Linked DNA regions of Homo sapiens: region 2 is linked to region 1. The links are contacts of gene promoters, found by promoter capture Hi-C in blood cells and fetal thymus (Javierre and others, 2016). All regions are on one chromosome and are shown on one strand. Each heading gives the region's core, a stretch centred on a gene start or on the middle of the fragment in contact. The rest is flanking DNA. Distances are from core to core; before and after follow the strand shown.

Evidence for each region. The method cuts DNA at HindIII sites, captures the fragments that hold promoters and counts their contacts. A CHiCAGO score of 5 or more calls a contact.
Region 2: the fragment with the promoter of IL22RA1 here is called in contact with the fragment with the promoter of MYOM3-AS1 in region 1 in 1 of 17 cell types (endothelial precursors); the score reaches 5.5 in endothelial precursors.

The regions. Positions count from the first base shown.
Region 1 is chr1:24,062,670-24,069,778 of GRCh38, forward strand. MYOM3-AS1 (MYOM3 antisense RNA 1) reads left to right here and starts at 4,093. Exons shown (of 3, transcript XR_001737930.2): 1 at 4,093-4,173. It overlaps MYOM3 (myomesin 3), which reads right to left. Exons shown (of 37, transcript NM_152372.4): 26 at 5,554-5,698; 27 at 5,301-5,360; 28 at 4,352-4,419; 29 at 3,222-3,332; 30 at 1,403-1,490; 31 at 823-861; 32 at 457-565. LOC107984931 (a long non-coding RNA gene) reads left to right here. Exons shown (of 3, transcript XR_001737929.1): 3 at 1,378-1,460. The HindIII fragment of the contact is 6,627 bases long and covers 1-5,347 here.
Region 2 is chr1:24,140,319-24,147,427 of GRCh38, forward strand. It overlaps IL22RA1 (interleukin 22 receptor subunit alpha 1), which reads right to left and starts at 2,822. Exons shown (of 7, transcript NM_021258.4): 1 at 2,722-2,822. The coding sequence starts at 2,764. The HindIII fragment of the contact is 5,016 bases long and covers 2,289-7,109 here.

The DNA of each region.
Region 1 (7,109 bases), core at 2,843-5,342:
CAGACCCTTTTCCTGCATGTTTCCCCTAAGCCTGGCTGACCAAGTTTGCTAAGTCTGCAGAGGCCCACAAGGGTCCCCTGACCCACCTGACCACTTGGCTCTTCTTTGTCCCTGCATCCCTTTCTCCCCCAGTTCCCAGCTGCTGCCCAGAGACTGATCCTGCTGTGGCCATAGAGTTTCCAGAAAAATGTTGTCCCGCCAAGGTTCCCACCTTCCCTGGGGATCTCGGCAAAGCCTTTCTACTCCTCCCACTGCTAATCTCTATCCTCAACTCCTTCTGTGGACAGCAAGACCAGGAAGAGACTCTGTCTCTGCTAACCCCTGGGACCAGGCTCTGCTTGGGGGACCAGAAACTCTGCTTGGAGGACCAGGCAGGGAGAAGGGAGGGAGGCCCCCATGGGTCAGGTGCTGAATCCTTTCCAGCCTGGCTGGGGTTCTGGGGCAAGGCGGACTTACTTGTGGAACCAGGTGGTTTTCATGTACTCCACGTTGTAGTACTTGACCTTGCTGAAGATCCGGATCCCTTCCTCGGTCCCCTGGATTTTCAGTGGAGTTGCAGAGAGGGCTGGGGAGACAGAGGAGAAGGATGAATCTTCCCTGAGGCCATTTAGGCATCAGATTTTGGGGCCGGCTTGTCTGCCTCTGCCCTGGGGGGCAGGTGCTGTGGGGGAAATGCAGTGCTGTGAAGAGGCGGGATTTTCTCTTCGGTGTTTGAGGTTAGAAACTAAACCCACCCCCAATAGCCAAGGCCAGTGTTAGGCTGCTTGGAGGCTGTTGGGCATCAGGGCAGGGCAGGGCTGGGCAAAGAGGCAGGCTGCTTACCACCAATCCTGCCCAACTCGGTGAAGATGGCATCCAGGGCTGGCGGGAAACAGAGAGAAGGGTTAGCTGGCATAGGGCTCCCCTAGGGATGTGCTAGGAGTGGGGACATCCTAGAAAAAGGCTGGTGGAGCCCGTGAGCTGCTCTCAGGGGGACAGGCAACTCTGTAGGATGACTCTCATAGCTTGGGGATAGGAGGGGGTTCAGGGCACTCAGCAATGGGGTGGGCAGAAGGGCACTATGGATGGAGGACAAACATGCAAATCTGACAGTTTTTGCAGGCTGAGCTGATCAGCCTGATGAGGAGCCTGGGCCCACTGTGGGACGGAGGAGTGAACTCAGGCTTCGGGTCTCCAAGCCTGGGCTCACTGTGGTATACTGTGGTGAACGAGGGCATCGGAGTCACACCGACCTGGCTCCTGCCACTGACTAGATGTGGAATCTTGGGCAAGTTACTTAATCTCTTTGTGCCTCAATTTCTCCAAGTGACATGGGGATCCCATAAATCTTACTGCACAGATCACATCACAGTCTGCTCCACTGTGCTCCCTCCACAGCCCCTGACCCATCGCCAGCTCCTACCGTCACCCGTGAGGTCCAATATGGTGTCGTCCTCCCCTCGATCGTCAGAAACCATCGCTCTGTAAATTCCCTTGTCCTTTTTGGACAACTGGAAAGAAGGATGAGCGATGGTGGTGTCAGCATGGGCTCCAGAAGGAGAGATGGATACCAAATCCGGAGGCCTGGGCTCCAGGCCTGCCCCTCACTCTCTGTGTGACCTCAGGTAAGACCCTTCTCCTCCCTGGGCCTCCATTTACTCATCTGGGCTGGGTGAGCTCTAAGGCTCCTTTCAGCTCCAGAGCCCTTGGATTCCTAGCTCGGGGCTTGTCTGGGCCTGGGGAAGGGGTGGAGTAGGGGGAGTTGAGGACAGAACCAGACACCTTCGTTTGCATTCACAGGCAGCTGCTCTGAGCATGACATGACACAGTGAGCCTCACTTTGCAGAGCTTGTCTGGGCCTGGCCCACCTTTCACTCCCTGGGGGCTCCTGGATGGAGGGACCCCCACCACCTGCAGTTCCCCAGGAGGAAGCGTGTTTTCTCCTGCCCAGGACAAGGGGGCCCTTTTGGCCCATGTTTGTCAGCCCCAAATTAAGTCTGAACAAACACTCAGCAAAGTAAGAACTTGAGTTGTGCTTTCAAGGCAAGGTCCAGAGATCAGAAGTGACCTCTCATTACACAGCACCTTCCTTCAGCCCTCATCTCTCAATACTTCCCACCAGGACCATCTCCACACAGTGGGTTTGGGGCAGGATCCAAGACAGAGGCAGCTCTTAACCTGAGGATTGAGGTGCTGAGCCCCAAAAGTCCTCTCTTATGTCCTCACCATCCCAGGAAGTCTCCAAGTTCTCAGCCAAACCTAGGGTGGGTGACTGGAGTGGCTTCTGACCCCACCTTCTAGCCTTATGTCTTTGCATTGAAACACTCTGAGCCTCAGTTTACTCATCTGTAAAATCATGGCATCATCCTTGCCCTGCCTGTATGCTACAGCTGCTGTGGGGATCAAGGGAGGTAACTCTTAGGAGGCCAGAAAGTTTGCACCAATGGGACTGATGATTATAATAAAACTCTGTAACTTTGAAGCACCTACTGGTGCCACAGCCTGTCTGAGGAGCTTGCACAGTGGTGGCAAAGGCTGACTTGGCATCAGCCTGGCCAGGATTTGGGAGAAGACCTTGAAATCATTGTTTTCTTCCTAGTCAGCAAGGCTCTGTTTGCTCCAGTCCTCCTGGGCACCCAGTGAGGCCACAGACATCAGCAGCAGGGCAGAAAAAGGTTGACGTTTGAGAGCAAGCCTTGTGTTTCTCTCTTAACCAGGCCACGGTCCACCAAAGGCCATGGGGGAGGACTTGGGGGGAGAATTGAGCTCCAGGCCTGCTTTATTCTGCCCAGATCTGCCTCACATGGAGACATCCTTCCTGTCCCGACTCCTAGACTGTTGGGGCAGGAAGGAGGCGTTGAAAGAGCATCCCTTCCAACCCGCTCATGTTGCAGATGAAAGCTGAGGTCAGAGAGCGACGGGGGCTAGCCCAAGCCTGCACAGTCATTGGCAGGGCCAGTACTGGAGCTAAAGAAAAAAATCAGTAATACTGATTCTGTCTCTATTGAAAATTTGGGGGCTTTAATAGTTTTTTTGCATTAATTTTGATTTTTTAGAATATTGCATACAATATTATTTATCTTGATTACTGAGTTTTTTGGTGCCTCTTAAATTTTGTGCTCAGGGCCTCACTTGCATCAACCTAGCCTCGGCCCTGCCCTGACTCCCAGCCCAGAGCTCTTGGCCCTCCCTGGCTTGCAGCCAAAGGAGAAAGTGAGCCCTGAAGCTGGAGCCACACTTGCCTCTTCAATGCAGAGAAGTCCCGTTCCCGTCTCTGGGTCATACTGACCATCTGGCATCTCTGCCCTCTGGAAGAACCACTGAAAGCGAGTCTCCTTCTTGGTGTTGGTCACCTGGGGAAGGTGGGGAATGAGGAGACTCTGTCAGGCTTGTTTCTTTTTGAGTAAAAACACACCTGTGCACACTTTCAGGCATCTCAGTGGAGTCCTTTCACATACCATGTGTCTCCTCTGCTGGCCTCTGGACTCTGAATTCTTGCTAATGGTTTTCCCTCTGCCTCTTGATCCCTGCCTTACTCTATTTTTCTTGGAAATGTCCATGTGCTTCAGTTAAATGTCATCTCCTCCAGGAAGCCTTTTTTTTGAAGCATCCCATAGTCACCCCCTCCATCACGATTCATCAATGTCCTGCCCCATCCGGGTCAAGCATGAGGGATGCTGTTTTCCAATGGTCCTGCCTTGAACATGGGCTCCCAAGGCCCACAGAGACCACTTCATCATCTTTGTACGTTCAGTACCGTGCAGAGTGGCACAAAATAGATGCTCTGAGTTTACTGAATGAATATGCTTCTGGGAGAGCACCCACCCTCCCCTTCCCCAGTTATCTAAACAGGCTGAAGAGTGCTAAGAAGGACCTTAGGCTTTGGAATCAGATAGACTTGTTCAAACCTGGGCTCTCCCTCTTACCGTGTGGCCTTGAGCTATTTCTCCATTTGTTTTCTCATCTATGAAGTGAGGATAGTAATGCCTGTGTCACAGATGATTGTGAGGCGGATGAAATAATACTGTGAGTCTCTGAGCACAGGGTAATCATAAACACAGGGATACCCCTCAACATATAAACCCTCGTGGGCTCCTAGACCCCCTGACCCCTCAGAACCCCTTCTGGAGCCACTAGGATCTCGTTCAAGGCTGGTCCACCTCACACGAATCCTACCCCATGGGCGCTGGGAAGGTGGGTTTGCTTTTTGGGTTACGTGTGGTCTCCTCGGGGGTACTTTCTGTGTGTGCGATCAGCCAAGCACAGAGTATGGAATTTAGGGGGCCGGGTGGGCAGGGACAGCAACTGGGCTTGGGGACAAGCCACAGGTCCCCCTGCACTGGGCCTGGGGGCAGGGCAGGGCAGGACTTGCCTTGCACGTCAGCTGCACTTGGCAGTCCTCCGTGACCTTCCACTGCAACGGCCGCTCAAAATAGGGACCTGTGCGTGCAAAACAAATGTGCCCACTGTCAGAGAGCCAGGCTCAGCCAGGGTGCCACCTGTGTCCAGGCAGTGCTGGGGGGAGGGACAGCTAATGGCTATGGACTTCTCAGATGCTGCCTCTGCCAGGGCTGGGACTGGGGTGAGGCAGGGGCGGTGCTCAGAGCGCAAATTTCTTTCTTTCTTTCTTCCTTCCTTTCTTTCTTTCTTTCTTTCCTTCTTTCTTTCTTTCTTTCCTTCTTTCTTTCTTTCTTTCTTTCTTTCTTTCTTTCTTTCTTTCTTTCCTTCTTTCTTTCTTTTTCCTTCCTTCCTTCCTTCCTTCCTTCCTTCCTTCCTTCCTTCCTTCCTTCCTTCCTTTGTTTCCTTCCTTCTTTCTTTCTTTCTTTATTTTTGAGACAGAGTCTCGCTCTGTTGCCTAGGCTAGAGTGCAGTGGCGCAATCTCGGCTCACTGCAAGCTCCGCCTCCTGGTTTCAAGGATTCTTGTGGCTCAGCCTCCTGAGTAGCTGGAATTACAGGCGTGTGCCACCATGCTCGGCTAATTTTTGTATTTTTCATAGAGATAGGGTTTCACCATGTTGGCCAGGCTGGTCTTGAACTCCTGGCCTCAAGTGATCTGACCACCTTGGCCTCCCAAAGTGCTAGGATTACAGGTGTGGGGCACTGTGCCTGGCTTCAGGGTGCAAAATTTAAGAGGGCTCAGCTCTCACCCTCAGGTCAGGCAAGAGCTATTTTGATCTGGCACTGGGACAGAACTGGACTGAATGACAGTGGACCTCCCTTGGGGACCCAGCAGGGCTGGGGTTCCCATTAATCCGCAGTCCAGCATCTCTAGCACGAACCAGTGGCCAGGGATTTTGAACTTCACCCCAGCAGCTCTTACCCTGTTTTCTCTTCCAGTCCCTTCTCTTAGCATCTGCCTTCCTCAGAAGCTTGTCAAAATCTGTGAACACAGAGGGAGGAACTGGCATGAGCCGAGAGGAGTGTGGGTCTGGAGAGGGGACATGGGGTGGACAGAAGTCGAGGGGGCTGTGCTCAGCAGGCTGCAGAGCCGAGGACTCAGGGCTGCAGGGCAGGCCAGGTGTGCGGGGCAGGGCGGGGCAGGGCTGGGCGGGGCGAGGCTGGGCATGGCTGACCGTCATCCACCAGTGTCAAGGTAATCTGGTTTTTGGCTTTTCCATCTTGGAGTTGAGCGGTGTACGACCCTTTGTCCTCCTCAGACAAGTTCTGGATGATCACTTCCACCAGGCCCTTCTCTCGGTCAAAATTGATTTTGCGGTTCTGAAAAGGACAAACTCCAGAGTCCTTTTCCCTGTTCTGGGAACTTTGTTGTGGGGTACACATCAGAGTGTAGTGGGCTTGGGGGTGGTAAGCACAGAGCTGTCAGCCTTCAGAGACTGGGGCTGGCCGTTGGGTAACCCTCTGCTGCTCCCCCCACACCTAGTCCCCCGGGGTGCTTGAATAAGTTACAATTTTTTGTTGTTGTTTTTTTGAGACAGAGTCTCACTCTTGCCTAGGCTGGGGTGCAGTGGAGCGATCAGTTACAATTTAATAATAAGTCCCGAACCCCTGCTGTGCCATGATTTTGCCTATTTTCTTTTCTTTTTCTTTCTTTTTTTGTTTTTTGTTTTTTTCTTGAGACAGTGTCTCACTCCATCGCAGAGTCTCGCTCCATCACCCAGGCTGGAGTGCAGTGGCGCAATCTCGGCTCACTGCAGCTTCTGCCTCCCATGTTCAAGCAATTCTCCTGCCTCAGTCTCCTGAGTAGCTGGGATTACAAGCATGCGCCACCACACCCAGCTTATTTTTGTATTTTTAGTAGAGACTGGGTTTCACCATGTTGGCCAGGCTGGTCTCGAACTCCTGGCCTCAAGTGATCTGCCTGCCTCGGCCTCCCAAAGTGCTGGGATTACAGTCGTGAGCCATTGTGCCCAGCAGCTTATTTCCTACTTCTTTTAAAATAGGAAAAACCCCATTGGCGTGTGTAAAGGATAATGGAAAAAAAAATACTCGTGTACTTGCTACCCAGAATTAACACTCATTTACATTTTACCATATTCTAACAGTTTTTAAAATTTCATTTTCCTCATCTAGGTTCTTTCTTCCTCTGGCTTTATTTGTATGTATGATTTGGGGGAGTAATCTAATTTTGTTTTATTTTTCTATAGGGACAACTGATTGTCCCACCACTGAATACTAATGAGTCCAGACTTTGTAACACTTCCTTTACCATGTGGTAAGGTCATTGCACAAGCTTTATGCAGAACTTTCAAATCAGTTTTCTGATTTGCATCTTTTGATGCTGGGACAACCAGCCCCATTGCACAGATGGAGAAACACAGGCACAGACAGGTGAAGAGACCTGCCAAGGTCATATAACCCACAGCAGGTGGACATGAGACTCCTGTCAGAACTAGTGCCCTCTTTCTATAATACATGTTTTCTTTCTTCTTTTTTTTGTCATTGGACCTTTGATATATATATAACACATATTTTCTTCCTTTTTTCTTTTCTTTCTTTCTTTCTTTCTTTTTTTTTTTTGAGACAGAGTCTCACTTTATTGCCCAGGCTGGAGTACAGTGGCACGATTTTGGCTCACTGCAACCTCTGTCTCCCGGGTTCAAGCGATTCTCGTGCCTCAGCCTCCTGAGTAGCTGAGAGTACAGGTGCGCACCACCATGCCTGGCTAAGT
Region 2 (7,109 bases), core at 1,572-4,071, 76 kb after region 1:
TTAGTGTCTAACAGGCCCCTATGTACATGTGTTGAGTCTGAAGGGAGGAGACCTGGGAAGGGAAGACATTCGCTCTGTAGGGAGGGGGCTATCTTGTTCACCCTTTTATATGAGGGTGGGGGGCTTCAGGGACCTGAGCACCTGATAAAGGGATGAATTTAGGGAGGAGGAGAAGAGAGAGGAGAAGAGAAGCTGGCCATTGAAGAGTCCACAGCCCTCTCTTCCAGGCTAGGTCTTTGTCCAGCCCACTTCTGCTTCTGTTAAGGGAAGGGCAGTGAGGGCCTGAGCCTCAAGGAAGGGGCTGGGGAGGGGCTGCAGCCTCTAAAGCAATCTGCACTGTAAACAAAGAGTCCTTAACTTATAAAACCCTTCCCTCAGGCCCCCAGGCTTGGGCTGTGGAGAGCAAGAGCCTGCGGGAAAATGGCGGCCCAAGCTGGCAGCTGGCTCGGAGCTCGGAGGCCCTGGCCGGCTGGCGTGGGAAATAAACAGGTGGGAAAATGTTAAGCAACCCCAGCTGGGTCAAGGCCTTGCGGCCTGGGTGTGTGTCTTGAATATGTCTGTGCCTCTCCTTCCCCAGACACGTCTACGACTGCCAGTGGGCCCAAGGTGTGAGGGAGCAGACAGTTATTGATTCCCCTACTCCAACTCTACACACAAGAGGGGTCCTCAGGCTTGGCGAGGACCGATGGGGACGGAAGAATGGTCCGACCCCGCTGCACATCCTCTGGCCAACCTCGAAGGCTGCCCTCCTCTCTGAATTTGGGTTCTGGCCCAGCAGCTGCAAAATGTCTTCAGGCTTCCTGGAGTCCCCAGAATGGGGCCTTAGGGATGGCGCGGGGAGGGGTCTACTGCCTCTACGCAAGGTGACGGCTGTGCCGTGGAGCCTTAGGATGTAGCTGACATCTTGTTTGGATGTGAGGCTGGGTGGAATTGGGGTCAGTTCTGGAGGGAGGGGTCCTGGATTCAGGGCTGAGTCTAAAGTTGAGGAAAGGAGTCCAGTCAAGGTCAGACCTGAACAGTGGCTTCTGGTTGGGTGGTGGGTCAGGGCAGAAGGGTGAGGGTGGGCTTTGAGAAGCCAGGCTCCATCAAGGCTTGGGGTAGAGTCTGCAGCGGGAACGGTTGCTGGTTGAGGTCAGTGTTCTGGGTGGGAAATAGAGGGCCCATCTGGGTTGCAAGGAGGCTGGTGGCTGAGGTGGGGGCATGTTGCCAAGGCAAAGGACCCTGGGCTACGTGGAGGTTGGCACCACTTTTCAGGAGGGAACTGCAGTTAGCTTCCTGAAGTGGGGTAAGTGAACCTAGGCCCACTCCTGTCTTTTAGGGATGTCAGGGTCTAACAAGATCTCCCCCTCTTCTCCCACCCTCCTCGCTCCTTTTCCTCCTCAAATCTATCATCCATTCCTCAGCCTGTGTTGCTTCGGCACTTCCCGGGTGAAAGTCTATATTGTGAAATCTGGGGAGACATGTGTTGTGTGGAGCCTGGCAGCCTGGCGGATTTATAAAAGGCAACTTGTTTTTTCACATTCATGTGGAAAAACAATGTTCTGTCAACCAGCTGGGAAGCTAAGGAAAAATACACAAACAAGAAACAATTCCACATGCTCTGGAGTCAGCCTAAGATTGGGGGGGTGAGGGCCCGGTGTGTGCAGCGCGAGGCAGCTGACCCTTGACAATCTCCTAAGGGCTATTTCTTGGGGTCCCCCATCTCAAAGGGCTGGGAGCCTCTAGGATTTCTAACCAGTATGGCTGAGGGTCTAAAGGGACGTGTCTTGGTGCCTCAAGGGGGTGCCTCACATCTTCCTGGAACGCCCAGCTTGATGCTGGGAAGCAGACTGGAGGGGGTCCCACAGAGCTGGAAGCCCTGGAGACGCAGGCAGCCCTGGCGGGACAGTGGCAGAGAAGGTGGGAAGCTCTGCCTTTTCGTGGGCCTCGTCCTGCACTTGAGCAAGGAGGGCCTGGCCGAGGCCATACCTGCTCGCCATCCTCAATCAGGACTATGCTTTGACTTCCTAAGGAAGTTCCCTGAATTTCATGCAATGCACCAGGAGAGCAGAGAGAGAGTCTAGGGTCTCATGTAACGTTCTCCATAATGATGAGCCCCCCACTCCGCTCACTTTATTGGCTTTGAACACTATGCCCTTAAGACCTGTTTCCAAATGAGTCCTGTGTCTTAAGACCTATTAATGTAGCAGACCTGGCCACTCTAGGAGAAAATGCTCTTTCAGATCTATGATAACAAAAGGGGCCAAAGAGGCCCTGCAGGGGCATGGAGGGAGGCAATAGTGAACTCAAGCTTCGTTTCCCCCGGTCCTTCCTCCTCCTCCCCTGTCAGGCCAGTGCCAAGTGAGAGGCAGAGGAAGGATGGTACAAACTGTGCCGACACCGTTTGAGGGACCGAAGGATGTCTGCCTCCTCCAGGCCAATTCTCCATTCACTGAGGTGCAGCGATCCAGCACCCCCAGTTCAGACAGCTGGCTATATCCCTCAAGACCCGAGGGTCCTTTGGGTCCCTGGAAGAACCCAGGGTCTGAGGCACCCTCTCATGCCCCCAGCAAACTAAGCTGGGCATTTGCTTCTCCGTGAACACCCGGCACCCTGCTCAGCCCTAGCAGGGGAGAAACTGAAACTGGCTATGCTCGGGCTGGGGAGGGTGCTGGGGAGATGACCCTGATCGTTGGCCCCTGGGATAAGGGAGGTCTGACCACAGGGTAGATGGGCACTCACCAGCCAGGGATCCCACAGTCAAGATGGTCAGCAGCGTCCTCATCGGGGCTGGCACAGAGCCCTCCCTTGGCCTCTACTCTGCCGTGCACAGAGAGAGGGCTGGGAGTCTTGGCGCCCTGGCAGCTGGCTCCACCCGGGCATGGGGCGGGGAGAAGGGGGTGGGTGGGACCTGTGCCGGTGGGGAGCAGGGGTACAAAGGTGTCCTGGCCCTGTGTGCTCTGGAATTCCAGGTTCTGGGCGGGATCTAAGGGAGTTCCCTTCCGACTTGCAGAAAACAGCAATAGTAACAGGCTGGCTTGTTTATCTGGTCCGGTGGCTGATTCATCCCAAGTGGTTTATCAAGGAGCTGAGGGGCAGAAAAGGCAAGAATAATCCACGATATGCAGCCTTATCAAAAAGCAATTTGGCACTGTGGATCAAAAGCCTACACCACATACATATCTTTTGCTTTAATAATTCTATTCCTAGGGGATTTACCCTGATGAAAATAACTGGACAACAGAGGGGGAAAAAAAAGGTCCCAGAATGTTTCTTGCAGCAAAGGAAAAGCTGTGACTCCTTTGCTTTTCTGGCAGGAGGAGATTGAGGGCACCCGATGCTCCTCCTTGATCCTCCATATCAAGGCAGGTCCCCACGCTTGGGGTGGGCTTGGGAACAGCTCTCCCCTAGAGAGGCCGTTGGGGGTGAGGAAGCCCAGCCGCTCTTACCTTGAGCCTTTGGGTCTAGGATCTGCAAAAGTTTAGAAAAAAAATGGAACTCAAACTTCAGTGATTCTTTCTGCTGTGCTAGAGATGGGGCTGAACTTCATGAATGGGGCTTTGGTTCGGGACGATGAAGATTCAGGCTGCTCTCCCATCATTTTGCCACGTAGGGCAGGATCTGCACATGAGCTTCGTGTGAATGAAGGGACAGGTGTTTAGGAAATGGTTTTCTCCTTCCTGCAGGGCCTGGAGAAGGTAGAAGGGCCCTGGGGCCTGGACTCTGGTCAGGGTGGACACGATTGGAGGGTCCTGCCCCTGGGGAGAGTTTGCCTGGCCCCAAGCACACAAAGGCAAGCGAAATTTTAGCAGGGATCCTGCCAACGGGTTGGGTGTAATGGGCTGTGATATGCTGAGATCGGTGTTTAAGTTTTTCTTTCCTGAATTGTAATTGTTATCAGCCCTGATTGCTAAAGTTTGTTTGACAAAACAGCCAAATCTAAGCTGTGCTTTGGAGGAATTAAGGTAGGGCCCATGCCAGTCATTTCCTGAAACTGCAGGAAACTACATTTTCTAGACTCCTTTATCAACTGCTTTCTGATAGGTTTAGCCCCTGGGGGAAGACTGGGGAGGCAGAGATCAGAGCATTTCTCCCCTCGTTTTCTGTTTGAGTGGCTTCCCCAGCAATGGCCATATCCCTCTGCAGTTCTGGCTCCCTCTGGACAGTCCATCAGCCAGGCAACCCCTTATGTCTTTCTTGTTCCTGTTTGGAGGCCAGCTCCTGGCTCTGGCAACACCTTCTCCCCTCATCTTTCCTTTCAGTTGGTGGGATGGCACAGCTTCCTGCTTTGGGGAAATCTCTGAACTGTCTGTCCTGATTAGTGTCCCAGCTCCTTCATCCTCTGGGTGACGAGCTCCTTTACATTAAAGTCCCTTGGTCTGAAAGACTGGAGAGGTTTCTGTGCTACTGAATGAACCATGATGGATAGAGGGTTTTTGATGACTTTGATGACAAGGCAGTGTGGGGAAGCTACAGCGAGAAAAACAGGTTACAAGGGACGCTTAGGGAGAAGAGCAGGCTTTGGTCCCAAGTGGCTGGCCGAGAGGACAAGACGCAGCCCCAACAGGTCTGTGGAACACGAAAGTGTTCCTTGGGGCCTCTCAGAAGCACTGGAAGAAGGAACTTGATGGAGGAAAAGGGCATCCTGTAGTTTCGAGGGCCTGTGGTTATGTAGGAATTAACGGGAAGGAAGACACCTGGATTGCTAAGGAATGTGGGAACACCCAGACTTCATTTCTAACAGTTTAAGAAAAAAATAGGTGGGGCGTGGTGGCTCATGCCTGTAATCTCGCACTTTGGGAGGCCAAGGTGGGCAGATCACCTGAGATCAGGAGTTCGAGACCAGCCTGGGCAGCATGGCGAAACCCTGTCTCTACTAAAAATACAAAAATTAGCCGGACATGGTGGCGGGCACCTGTAATCCCAGCTGCTCGGGAGGCTGAAGCAGGAGAATTGCTTGAGCCCAGGATGTGGAAGTTGCAGTGAACCGAGACCGCACCATTGCACTCCTGCCTGGGCGACAGAGCGAGACTCCGTCTCAAAAAAAAAAAAAAAAAAAAAAAAAAGGAGAAAAAAATGAAAACAACCTCCATGTCTGACAATAGAGGTTTGGTTAAAAGAATAATGGTATGTCCACCCAAAGCAAGACAAATGCAGCTTCCAAAATAATGCTGGAGAAAAATGTTTCGTGACCTGGTAAAGACTCATCATATTTTTTCAAGTGAAAAGAGGCATAACATAACCTATGTACAGTACCACCCTGGCTAAAACGCACACCTGCACACGCAGAGCAAACTGCGTGTCTTCATGGATATAGATGAAAACACTAGGGGCGTTATCTCTGGGTGGTAGTGGAATTGTAGGTGATTTTTCTTTTCTTCCCTTTGCTTATCTGCATTTCCTAAAGTTAATATAGGAAATACACTAATTTATATTAAGGGAAAGCAAGGTTACTAAACATAACAAATCGGCATTAAAGACAAGCCTTTGTTGGGGCTCTATCCTCCTCCTGGAATGCCATTTCCACTCCCTTAGCCAATTCCCTTTTCCTCGAATCTCACCAAGACAGTTTTCTTCTGCGATATGGCCCTTCTTGATAACTCCAGCCCATAACATCTCACTTTGAAAGTCCTTCCAGAGGCCAGGCACCGTGGCTCATGCCTGTAATCCCGGCATTTTGGAAGGCCAAGGAGGGAGTATCGCTTGAGTCCAGGAGTTTAAAGCCAGCCTGGGCAACATAGTGAGACACTGTCTCTATAAATAATAAAAAATTAGCCAGGTGTGGTGGCACATGCCTGTAGTCCCAGCTACTTGGGAGCCTGAGGCAGGGAATTGCTTGAGCCCAGGAGATCAAGGCTGCGGTGAGCCATGACTGCACCACAGCACTCAGCCTGGGCAACAGAGTGACACCTTGTCTCAAAAAACAAACGAACTTAAAAACAAAGTCCTTCCAGAATATGTGGTCTGGCCTGCATTTTGGCATTGTCCACTATGATACTTCAGCTGTGTTACATGTTCAAGAATGGAAAGGAGGCCAGGCGCCATGGCTCATGCCTGTAATTCCAGTACTTTGGGAGGCTGAGATGGGCTGATCACTTGAGGCCAAGAGTTCGAGACCAGCCTGGCCAACATGGTGAAACCTTGTCTCTACTAAAAATACAAAAATTAGCCAGGCATGATGATGCACACCTGTAGTCCCATCTTCTCGGGAGGCTGAGGCAGGAGAATCAGGAAGAATGAGGGAGAATCAGGAAGAATGAGGAAGAATCTGGAAGAATGAGGCAGGAGAAGCAGGGAGTCTAGGGTCCCTAGACTCCCGGCGGAGGTTGCAGTGAGCCAAGATCGTGCCACTGCACTCCAGCCTGGGCGACAGAATGAGTGAGACTCCATCTCAAAAACAAACAGGCCAGGCTCGGTGGCTCATGCCTGTAATCCTAGAACTTTGGGAGGCCGAGGTGGGCGCATTGCCTGAGGTCAGGAGTTCGAGACCAGCCTGGGCCACATGGCAAAACCCCGTCTCTACTAAAAAAACAAAAAAACAAAACAAAACAAAAAAGGCTGGGCATGGTGGCGAATGCCTATAATCTCAGTTACTCGGGAGGCTGAGGCAGGAGAATTGCTTGAATCTGGGAGGCGGAGGTTGCAGTGAGCCGAGACTGAGCCACTGCACTCTGGCCTGGGTGACAGAGCAAGACTCTGCCTCCAAACAAACAAACAAACAAAAGAATGAACAGGAGAGATTCGAGTTGGAGTGGAGGTGAAACATGAGCACCGTCTTCAAATATTTGAGGGGCTATTGCATGGAGAAGGCTCTAGACCTTTTTTGTATAACTACCTCTAAAAGGAAAACTAGGGTGGTCAGGGGGAGACATATTAGAGAGGCCATTTTTTCAATTTAAGGAAATCACTCTCGCTATGATGGTGTGGCTGCCTTGAGAGGTAGAAAGGTCTTGGCTGCTGGAGGTGTTCACAACGAAGCTGCCTTCAGTGGCAGAGGTTCCCCAGATAACCTCGTTCTCTGGGCTCCAAAGTTGGATGGTGCTCGTCAAGCATTCTGATTGCAAAGAGCCCGCTGGTATTCCTCTGTACCCTCCACATGGCTGAATGTAGAGCAGGTATCCAACATCGAC